Regions from separate parts of the Homo sapiens genome. Here regions 1 and 3 are each linked to region 2. The links are contacts of gene promoters, found by promoter capture Hi-C in blood cells and fetal thymus (Javierre and others, 2016). All regions are on one chromosome and are shown on one strand. Each heading gives the region's core, a stretch centred on a gene start or on the middle of the fragment in contact. The rest is flanking DNA. Distances are from core to core; before and after follow the strand shown. Region 1 holds the start of MKKS (MKKS centrosomal shuttling protein). Region 2 holds the start of AURKA (aurora kinase A). Region 3 holds the start of SEC23B (SEC23 homolog B, COPII component).

Evidence for each region. The method cuts DNA at HindIII sites, captures the fragments that hold promoters and counts their contacts. A CHiCAGO score of 5 or more calls a contact.
Region 1: a contact is called between the fragment with the promoter of MKKS here and the fragment with the promoter of AURKA in region 2, in 3 of 17 cell types (total B cells, total CD8 T cells and non-activated CD4 T cells). The highest score is 15.1, in total B cells.
Region 3: a contact is called between the fragment with the promoter of SEC23B here and the fragment with the promoter of AURKA in region 2, in 5 of 17 cell types (fetal thymus, total CD4 T cells, total CD8 T cells and 2 more). The highest score is 12.1, in fetal thymus.

The regions. Positions count from the first base shown.
Region 1 is chr20:10,432,836-10,435,862 of GRCh38, reverse strand. MKKS (MKKS centrosomal shuttling protein) reads left to right here and starts at 1,641. Exons shown (of 6, transcript NM_170784.3): 1 at 1,641-1,755. It overlaps SLX4IP (SLX4 interacting protein), which reads right to left and starts at 558. Exons shown (of 8, transcript NM_001009608.3): 1 at 410-558. LOC128706665 reads left to right here and starts at 1,641. Exons shown (of 3, transcript NM_001394148.2): 1 at 1,641-1,755. LOC128706666 reads left to right here and starts at 1,641. Exons shown (of 3, transcript NM_001394149.2): 1 at 1,641-1,755. RefSeq lists enhancers at 405-454, 615-844, 1,735-1,794. The HindIII fragment of the contact is 4,604 bases long and covers 543-3,027 here.
Region 2 is chr20:56,390,379-56,393,464 of GRCh38, reverse strand. AURKA (aurora kinase A) reads left to right here and starts at 1,250. Exons shown (of 9, transcript NM_198437.3): 1 at 1,250-1,297. It overlaps CSTF1 (cleavage stimulation factor subunit 1), which reads right to left and starts at 820. Exons shown (of 6, transcript NM_001324.3): 1 at 752-820. RefSeq lists an enhancer at 865-1,104. The HindIII fragment of the contact is 5,454 bases long and covers 983-3,086 here.
Region 3 is chr20:18,506,225-18,509,189 of GRCh38, reverse strand. SEC23B (SEC23 homolog B, COPII component) reads right to left here and starts at 1,250. Exons shown (of 20, transcript NM_006363.6): 1 at 1,218-1,250. RefSeq lists enhancers at 980-1,029, 1,380-1,709. The HindIII fragment of the contact is 4,172 bases long and covers 1-1,960 here.

The DNA of each region.
Region 1 (3,027 bases), core at 392-2,891, about 46 Mb after region 2:
GGTACTCAAGAAATGCAATGAATAAATGAATGAATGGGAAGTATATACAAACGCAATCTGTATTTACCTCACATCTCCAAAAATGTCTGGGAAGGGGGAGGTATTTGTACTGCTGGATGCAGGTAGCCATGATTTGATACAAATACCTGGCCCATCTACTGCATTCCCTTTGTGCAAAGACAGTTAACTTTCCTGAATAATATCTCCACCGTAATGCCCATGCTCATGGCATCCTGATGTTTAGCAACTTTTTGGCTTTTTGAAAACAATGAAGAAAGGTGGAAGTACAGGGAGAAGGATTCGGAAAAGTCTCAAAAAATCAAAGCCAAAAACCAGGAGGGAGGAGATGGGCAAACAGTTCAGTTCACTTGAAGGAACATCTGAGGTTGTCAGAGGTCCATGTGCTTACCTATGATGGTGGCGGGGTTTGGGCTCGGGCTTTATATGTTTTGTTACTGTCCAGGGTCACTGGCGGAGTAGTACCTGGCTGTGGAAACTCGGACTACACAGGTAGCCGGAACTGCAGCCAACCTTCAGAAGCTTAAGGGAAGCACTTTCGCGCTTACTTCCTCCTTCCCAGGGTCTCCGCGCGCGTTTGGGAACTCAGCCGCCGCCCAAACACAAAATGATCTGGGCAGCTTCGCTGCAGGATTGAGGCCACAGCCAGGATTTAAGATGGCAGCGAAACACTTCGATGGCCCGTGGAATCTGCCCAAAAGAAAAATGGCCTCTGTTCAGAATATCGCGGCTTTCAAAGTGGGCCCAAAACAAAAATGGCGCCGGACGCAGGCTATTTTTAAAGGCTGGGACCCCAATGACTCTCATTAGCAAATAACGTATCATGGTAACTCACGGTGCTAGGCAGTTGAACTGACCGAGAGAAAAAAAAACGCTTTTCTGTGGTGTGTTTTCTTAACATTGGAAAATGACTAGCTCAAGAATGGAACATATATTCGGTGCGAAAGATTGTGAGAAAGGAAAGGTAGCTTTCACAGTGCCGGATAAATTTTAATAAAAATAGCCATGTTTGAACATAACTTCCTATATGTTTTTTAATGTTAAAAGAGAATAAAAGTTTTGTCCTGGAACCCAGAAGCAGGATGGGGAAATGCCGGGTGAATTATCTAATCTGTGAAGAGTACGAGCTGCGAAACTCCGCACTTCCCTGTAAGCCCTCAGGAAGGACTGAGGGCGGATGCTTTAGTAGAAGGCAACTAGCTCTCACGGCGCATGTCCGTTTTCCAAACCCGATCCCGGGAGTTACGGGAGAGTAAAAATCCTGATTTTCCAGACAACCGCACAGAGAGGCGGGATACTGGCGCTGAGCGACAAATCCAAGCGCTTTGTAATTGGTCATGTCAGGACAGAGAGCAGAGCGCAGTGGACTATTTCTTTCTTTCATTCAATAAATCATTGTCAAGCGCTCACCAAAAGGCAGAAGCTGTGCCATTTTGATATGTTATTTAAATTTTATGCGTTCTTTTAAAATTTCAGTTTCAACAATTTGCTGGAATATACGCTGAATAAACTTCGCTCCCCGTTTTTTCCGGTGACGGCCGCTGTTGGCTGGAGCTTCACGGAAAACCCGGAGAAGCGGAGTGGGGGCGGCCCGGCGTCGACCGCAGAGCTGCGCGTGCTCCGTGCCCTCGCGCGACGCGAAGGTTGTCGGGATCCGCGGCAGCAGCGGCTGCTTGAGATCTGTTTCTGGGGCCTCTGGCGGTGGCGGCCTGGGGCGGCGCGACGGCTGGTGCGCAGGTGAGAGCGCTGGGACTCTAGGTGGAAAAGCCCGCTTTGTGTCCGGCCGAAGAGAGGGGAAGGGGCTTGTAGGCGCCTCCCTCTCCACCCCCAAAGGTCACCGGTGTCCTCACTGAAGGATATTTGAGGGCGGGGACAAGGAGGAGGCTGGCTCTCTGTAGGAGGCGAAAGACCGACCTCTGAAATAGCTGCCGATGGTAAATGTTGCGGTCGGCACGGATGCGGGCGGCGAGGAGGTCTTCCCGCCGGTGGGGAGAGCTGGAGGAGTGGCGCCTCACCACGCTCCCACCTGCGCTGCCGCCTTCTACGCCGAACCTGTGACTCCCCGTCCCCTCCCTCGCTGGGAGGGGCCCCGTGTGCCCCTGACTGTCTGGAGGGTGCACGGTGTACCCCAGGCTGTCGGGAGGTGGGGGCCGCCCTCCGACGGCGTTAGAGACGTTGTGCAGCGTGGCCCTGCCAGCTACGTGAAAGCAGCCGCGGGGCTTGCAGGGCTGTGGACCTTGTAGGGATGACCCTCTAAGGTCATGCTCGTCTTCCTCCCCGATAAGACCATACCCAAATCCTGTTGCCGTTTCAGAGACTCAATATGACGGTTTCATTCATTCATTAACATCTTCAGTTTATCCATAAACAGATATACACGTGTCTACAGCACTGCCGAGTTAGTAGATACGGCAGTGACCAAGAGGGACTTGCACGGTCCTGACTCCATGTTCTAGTGATGGGGGAGAAACAATACGCTCCCTATCCATGAGTTCCGCATGTGTGAATTCAACCAACTGCGGATAGAAAATATTTTGGGGCGGCGGGGTTTGGTGGCTCACCCCTGTAACCCCGCACTTTAGGAGCCCGAGGCGGGCGGATCACTTGAGTCAGGAGTTTGGGGCCAGCCAGGCCAACGTGGCGAAACCCGGTCTCTGCTAAAAGTACAAAAAAATGAGCCGGGCGCAGTGGCGCACGCCTGTAATCCCAGCTACTTGGGAGGTTGAGGCAGGAGAATCGCTTGAGCCCTGGAGGCGGAGGTTGCGGTGAGCGGAGATCACGCCACTGCACTCCAGGTTGGGCGACAGAGACTCTATTTAAGAAAATAAATAAATAAAAACATTCTGGGGGAAAAAAGATGGTTACATCTGTACTGAACACGTGCAGACCTTTTTTCTTGTCATTCCCTAAACACTGCAGTGTAACAACTACTTACATAGCATTTAACGTTGTATTAGGTATTATAAGTAGCCTAGAGATTATTTAAGGTACATGGAAGGAGGTGGCAAG
Region 2 (3,086 bases), core at 1-2,500:
AAATCACAAGTGGGTAGTCTGGCAAAGAAAAGTTGATGAGAGATTCTACTGTTAACGTTGGGTTAATATGACTCGAATAATTTCCGTATGCTAGCTCAATGCTTTACATGCACATCCTGTTTACCCTGCAGTAATCTGTTAATTCGTCTTATGTGAATTTAACTCTTAGTCCTAATAAGGTACCTGGAAGGATGGAGGGAAGCCATTTTTGGTTCCCCTACACCACTGTTCTATCCGGTCTCTTCACTTCTGCTGAGCACATCCCGGGTGTACATACACACACACACACACACATATGTGTGTGTATATATATGTATATGTGTGTGTGTGTGTATATATATATATATTTTAAGTGGCCCACCCCTAACTTCTCAACTCCCACAGAACGTTCACTCGCCAGGTAAACAGAAGCCTAATTATCCCCAATTTGCAGGTGAGCACACGAGGACAAGAACCCGATCCAGGACCGGATACATCGCAGTTGGAAAGGCTAGAACACAGATGCCCCCTCACTATATGCGCCGCGACCATCTGGATGCAGAGGCGAACTAAGGACTGGGTGGGAATGGAAGCGAGGCCCTTCGAGAAGAGGAAGGGGTGCAGGCCAAGCCGGGCAACTTAGGAAACGCAAAGTAGAGGCGCATGCCACCTTGCTAACTCTCGACTCTTCCAGTCTCGCCCCAGTCGTTTCTGTGGTTTTCTCTAAATGCCCCAGCCGACCGCACCAGCTACTCTCCCCGTGTCCCAGTACCAGCTGGTCCGGTTCTCTTGGTATCCCGCTCTCTCCTGGAAAAATGGAGGCGCGAATCCTGCCCAATCTACCGCTCCGAGCGCACGTTCACTGCGCACGCTGAAAGGGCGCCAAGCCGACCGCTGCGCTATCGATCGGTCCCACTCTCTCTTGCTTTTCTCGCCATCTTACTTACTGGCACGTTCAAAGGTTAGTTCACCTCCTTGGACTTTATCTCCAATGCGTCAAGCTTGACGTCAAGGGGCTGTTGCTTCACCGATAAATGGCCGACCGCGGAGAGCACCCTGGGGCTGGGACTGCCACAGGTCTGGCTGGCCGTTGGCTCCACCACTTCCGGGTTCTTAGGGAGCAAGTGCGCCTGCGCGCGGTGTGCGCCCTTAAACGCGACTCAAGGCGTCGGGTTTGTTGTCAACCAATCACAAGGCAGCCTCGCTCGAGCGCAGGCCAATCGGCTTTCTAGCTAGAGGGTTTAACTCCTATTTAAAAAGAAGAACCTTTGAATTCTAACGGCTGAGCTCTTGGAAGACTTGGGTCCTTGGGTCGCAGGTGGGAGCCGACGGGTGGGTAGACCGTGGGGGATATCTCAGTGGCGGACGAGGACGGCGGGGACAAGGGGCGGCTGGTCGGAGTGGCGGAGCGTCAAGTCCCCTGTCGGTTCCTCCGTCCCTGAGTGTCCTTGGCGCTGCCTTGTGCCCGCCCAGCGCCTTTGCATCCGCTCCTGGGCACCGAGGCGCCCTGTAGGATACTGCTTGTTACTTATTACAGCTAGAGGTACAAGGGGTTTGTTGAGTGGTGTTGACATGCGCGGGAGGGGTGGGTGGGCTTCAGATTGGATTTTGTCCTCCGAGATCACCTGGGTAAGAAAAGCACAGAAGGTCTCTGCTGTGTTGGAGTTCACGTTCTAGTGGGTGGGGAGACAGACGGTAAGCGTACGGAGAACTTGCAGCTGGGGTGGGTGTTACAGAGGAAAAGCAGGAGTGCGGTTTAACGGGGGCCGCTTTAGATAGAATAGCCTAAGAAGGCCCTTGTCCTGGCTGGATGAGTGGGTGAATTGATGAATGAGAACCTCCTTGCAGAGGCCTTCCCGGTCCGTACTTCTCAGACCGTAGACCTTGGAGCAGTTGTACCGGGATAACTTGCAGTGCTTGTTAAACATATAGCTCCACCGAGAGCCCGGTAAATCAGAATCTCTGAGGGGTAGGACCCAGGTGTCTAGTTATTAACAAACTCTCCAGATGATTCTTAGGTTTCATTGAGAACTAGGGATGCAGACCGGTGCATACAAATCGTCTGGGGACGTTAAAATGCAGAATCTGTTTTTTTAGACCTGGGGTTAGGCCTCAGAGTCTCCATTTCTAAGAACCATCCGGCTGAGGTAGACGTAGCCACTGTCCTTAACTCTCGTAATGTCTCTTCCTCTTCCGTAACCTTCCTTGTCCCTTGAATTAAACGTTTTTCAGCAACCTACTCAGTTCGTCCTTCCCTTCATCTCTGCAGACATGCACAGGTCTGAGGGAGGAAGGAATAAACCGTATAAACCTCCTGCGCTATTAGCCTAACAGCTTTTCTATTCAAAATAGTAGGACTTCTGGTTTGAACTGAATGGATCCTGTGAAAGTCATCTGGTTCTTCAATCTGGTTGCAGATTAGAGTCACCTGAAGGGCAGTCTCCTTGGCGTTGTCTCCAGAATTCTGGATTAGAATCTTATTCCATTCTGCTTGTTATTCAATTTCCCTAGAAAGAAAGGTAGAATAAATTGGAGCAAATGCCTGTAGCTTCTGTCAGAAGAATGTTGAATAAATGTTGTTAGGCCTATGTGATCTCATTAGACTGCTACTTAGAATTGTAAGGGAAGTAAAGCATTAGAGCATGTGTGAAATTAAATATTTGATTAACACAAGTGTGCATTTCCTTGTTGCTGTTTATCAACTTTTACTTACCCACTGTTTTTTTATAAGGGCTGCAGCCTGTAGTCTGGGCCTGGCTTCATCATGGAATTATTTGCTTAATTGTAAAATGGTAATCTTAATTTTTTTTTTTGAGACAGGGTCTCACTCCATTGCCCAGGCCAGAGTGCGGGGATATTTGATAAGAAACTTCAGTGAAGGCCGGGCGCGGTGGCTCATGCCCGTAATCCCAGCATTTTCGGAGGCCGAGGTGGGTGGATCACCTGAGGTCGGGAGTTCCAGACCAGCCCTACCAACATAGAGAAACCCTGTCTCTACTAAAAATACAAAATCAGCTGGGCGTGGTGGTGCATGTCTGTAATCCCAGCTACTCTGGAGGCTGAGGCAGGAGAATTGCTTGAACCCAGGAGGTGGAGGTTGCGGGTGA
Region 3 (2,965 bases), core at 1-2,500, about 38 Mb after region 2:
ACCTGAAGCACTGTGTGCACAGGAAGCACTCTGGAGCTTCATGGGAAGCAAAGGGATAACTAAAGTCGGAATGAAAGCAAGTTCTATCACAACTCTCAGCAAGTATGTCAGCAGATTTCATTAAATAACCGTCTCTCTCTCAAAACGTTCTTTATTAAAAGGCACTGGCGGCCGGGCGCGGTGGCTCACGCCTGTAATCCCAGCACTTTGGGCGACCGAGGCCGGTGGATGACCTGAGGTCAGGAATTCAAGACCAGCCTGGCCAACATGGCAAAACCCCGTCTCTACTAAAAATACAAAAATTAGCTGGGCGTGGTGGCAGGTGCCTGTAATCCCAGCTACTCGGGAGGCTGCGGCAGGGAGGACTGCTTGACCTTGGGAGGCATTGGTTGCAGTGAGCCGAGATCACGCCACTGCACTCCAGCCTGGGCGACAGAGCGAGACTCCATCTCAAAAAAAAAAAAAAAAAAAAAGAAGCTACTGCCTCCATCTAATGGTTTCCAAGCATGTACAGCCTAAGACCTGCTCCCTCCTTTTCCTACTGCCTGTTTCCCTCACCCTTCTAGGGTCTGGATTCTTAGCAGTGGACACATAATCCAAGGGGACTATAGAAGGTCCACTAATCATCTGAAGTTATGCGCATGAGGGAATATGCCGTTTTTCTAGGGAGATGGGTCCATAGCTTTTACCAAAGTATCGGGGAAGGTATCTGAAGAGGTAAATAACTGAAAGTATGAATTAGTGAATGAATGAAAGGCCTGGAAAGATAACAGGAGAATATGCCAAAAAATCTGAACCACCCTTATCGCGCCAACTCGTAACTTCTCAGGACACAGTGACCATGTGTATGTAAGAATAAGTGAGGTTTAATCCTTGAAGGGAGTCCAAGGACCTGGGTTCCAGTTCCAGCTGTCATGAAGCAAAAGTCGTTTCACTTGTCTGAGTCTTGAGTTTCTCAACTATAAAACGGGACTTGGGTCCTTCCAGGTGTGCGCACTCCGCAATTCTGGGGAAACTGGAGCCAGAAATCGGTCCCGGCCTGGTGCGGGACGACATCCGCAGGGGACTCCCGGATCATCCATTCCCCCGCTACCCTAAACTGTCAAGAAAAGGCCTCCTCCCAGAAGCCGCTCACCTCGCCCCCGGCAGAAACTCATACCCGTGCCCTCGGCCCTCCGTCACCTATGCGCCCCGCTCACCTGGCCGGAGCCGCTCACCTAGCTAGAGCCGTCCTCACCCACAGCTGCAACAAGCAGGCTCCGGCTCCCACCGCCAAGTCCAGCTCAGCTCTCAACCGATTGGCCAGCGCCCCAGCGCGTCATGCCACGGCGCTGTCCACTGGCCAATCAAAGAGCGCTTCTCCGACGGACTGGAGGAAGCGAGAGACTCAGAGAAGCTCTGCCACCATCTTGGAACAGGGCAAGACAGGTGTATGTCGCACTTCAAAACGAGAGTTCCTCGGAACACGTTTCCCCACCCCTAAACGTTTCTGTTTCAGAAAACCCCGGCGCCTGCCGCACCGTTGCCTAAGCGCAGCCAGCGCTCCTCAGAGGTTCGCCCTGATACAATATGACATCCGCTCGTCTCAGTGGGAAGTCCCGCTGATCGCCTTAGCTACCGGAAAGCGAGAACGATGACGTATGCTCGCGGAACAGGGAGCTGCACTGGTTGGAAGAAACTAAGGCTGCCGGAAGAAGGCATTAGCATGCGGAAGGGGCGGGGCGGGTGGTGAGCGCGGCGGCGCTTACGCACTTGCTGGTTTGGGAGTCGGTCTCTGTGGTTAAGTTTGAAGTACAGAGGTGTGGTGGTGCTTCACGTTACAAGCTCTCCTACCGTCGCTTGCTGTAATGTCTTGGCGCTCTCAGCGGAGGCTGGCACTAGCGCACAGTCCCTGTCATCCTTCTACATGGAGATAAATAATTGAGAACTGTAATATTCAACCATTTTAGGAGAGTAAGCTTAGAAATACATGGAACATAACTTTCTTTTAAAAAATAATTCCAACGTTTAGATTTAGGGGGTACACTGCGTATTTGTTACCTGGCTATGAGGTTTCGAATTCGAATGAGCTGGTCACCCAGATACTGAGCATAGTACCCAAGTTTTTCAGCCCCTCCCTGCCTCCCTCCCCACTCTAGTAGTCCCCAGCGTCTATTAATGTCACCTTTGTGTCCATGTGTGCCCAATGCTTAGCTCCCACTTTCAAGTGAGAACATGTATTTGGTTTTCTGCTTCTGCGTTAATTCTTTTAGGATCATGGCCTCCAGATGCATCCATGTTGCTGCAAAAGGCGCGATAGAACACAACTGTATAAAGCCACCACAACCATTTTTACACACGCTGACAAGTGGCAAACATGAACACATCATTACTGTGACTCAGAGTTGTAGTCTCTGTAGCATATAAAAATAAGCAAAACGATGTAAACATAAAATTATGCAAGAACATATCTAGGCATCCAAGAAGTATCCATTAATTAGCTCAATTTAATACTAAGTTTTAAGTTATCTACAGATCATAGAAATTATTAATAGTTTAAGGCACAAAGAAACAATTACTGTTAAATGTGAGAATGATTCAGTTTTGTTGAACAAATTCACATTTTTCAGGATCTTAAACAATGTAATGTTAATATTAGCTTATCAATAGTAAACTTTTATAAATTTAGGAAGTTCAGATTAATTATTCTCGGTAAGGAAACAAACTCAAAATGTACACATGTATAATACTTAACACTGAGAAAAGACATAGCTGGGATTTTTTTTAACCAAAACTTAATATTATTCGCCAAAGATTTGCCTTGATTATTTGAACCTGGATTCTTTCTGTACTAGCAATTTCTGTAAGAAAGATTGTTATAGGACCATCAGGTTCGATTGTCCATTGTGCGGTAACAGAAAGAATAGGAGTTGCAGCAGATAAAGAGTTCCATAATCAAGTGGCAGCCAAATGAGGAGACAAGAGC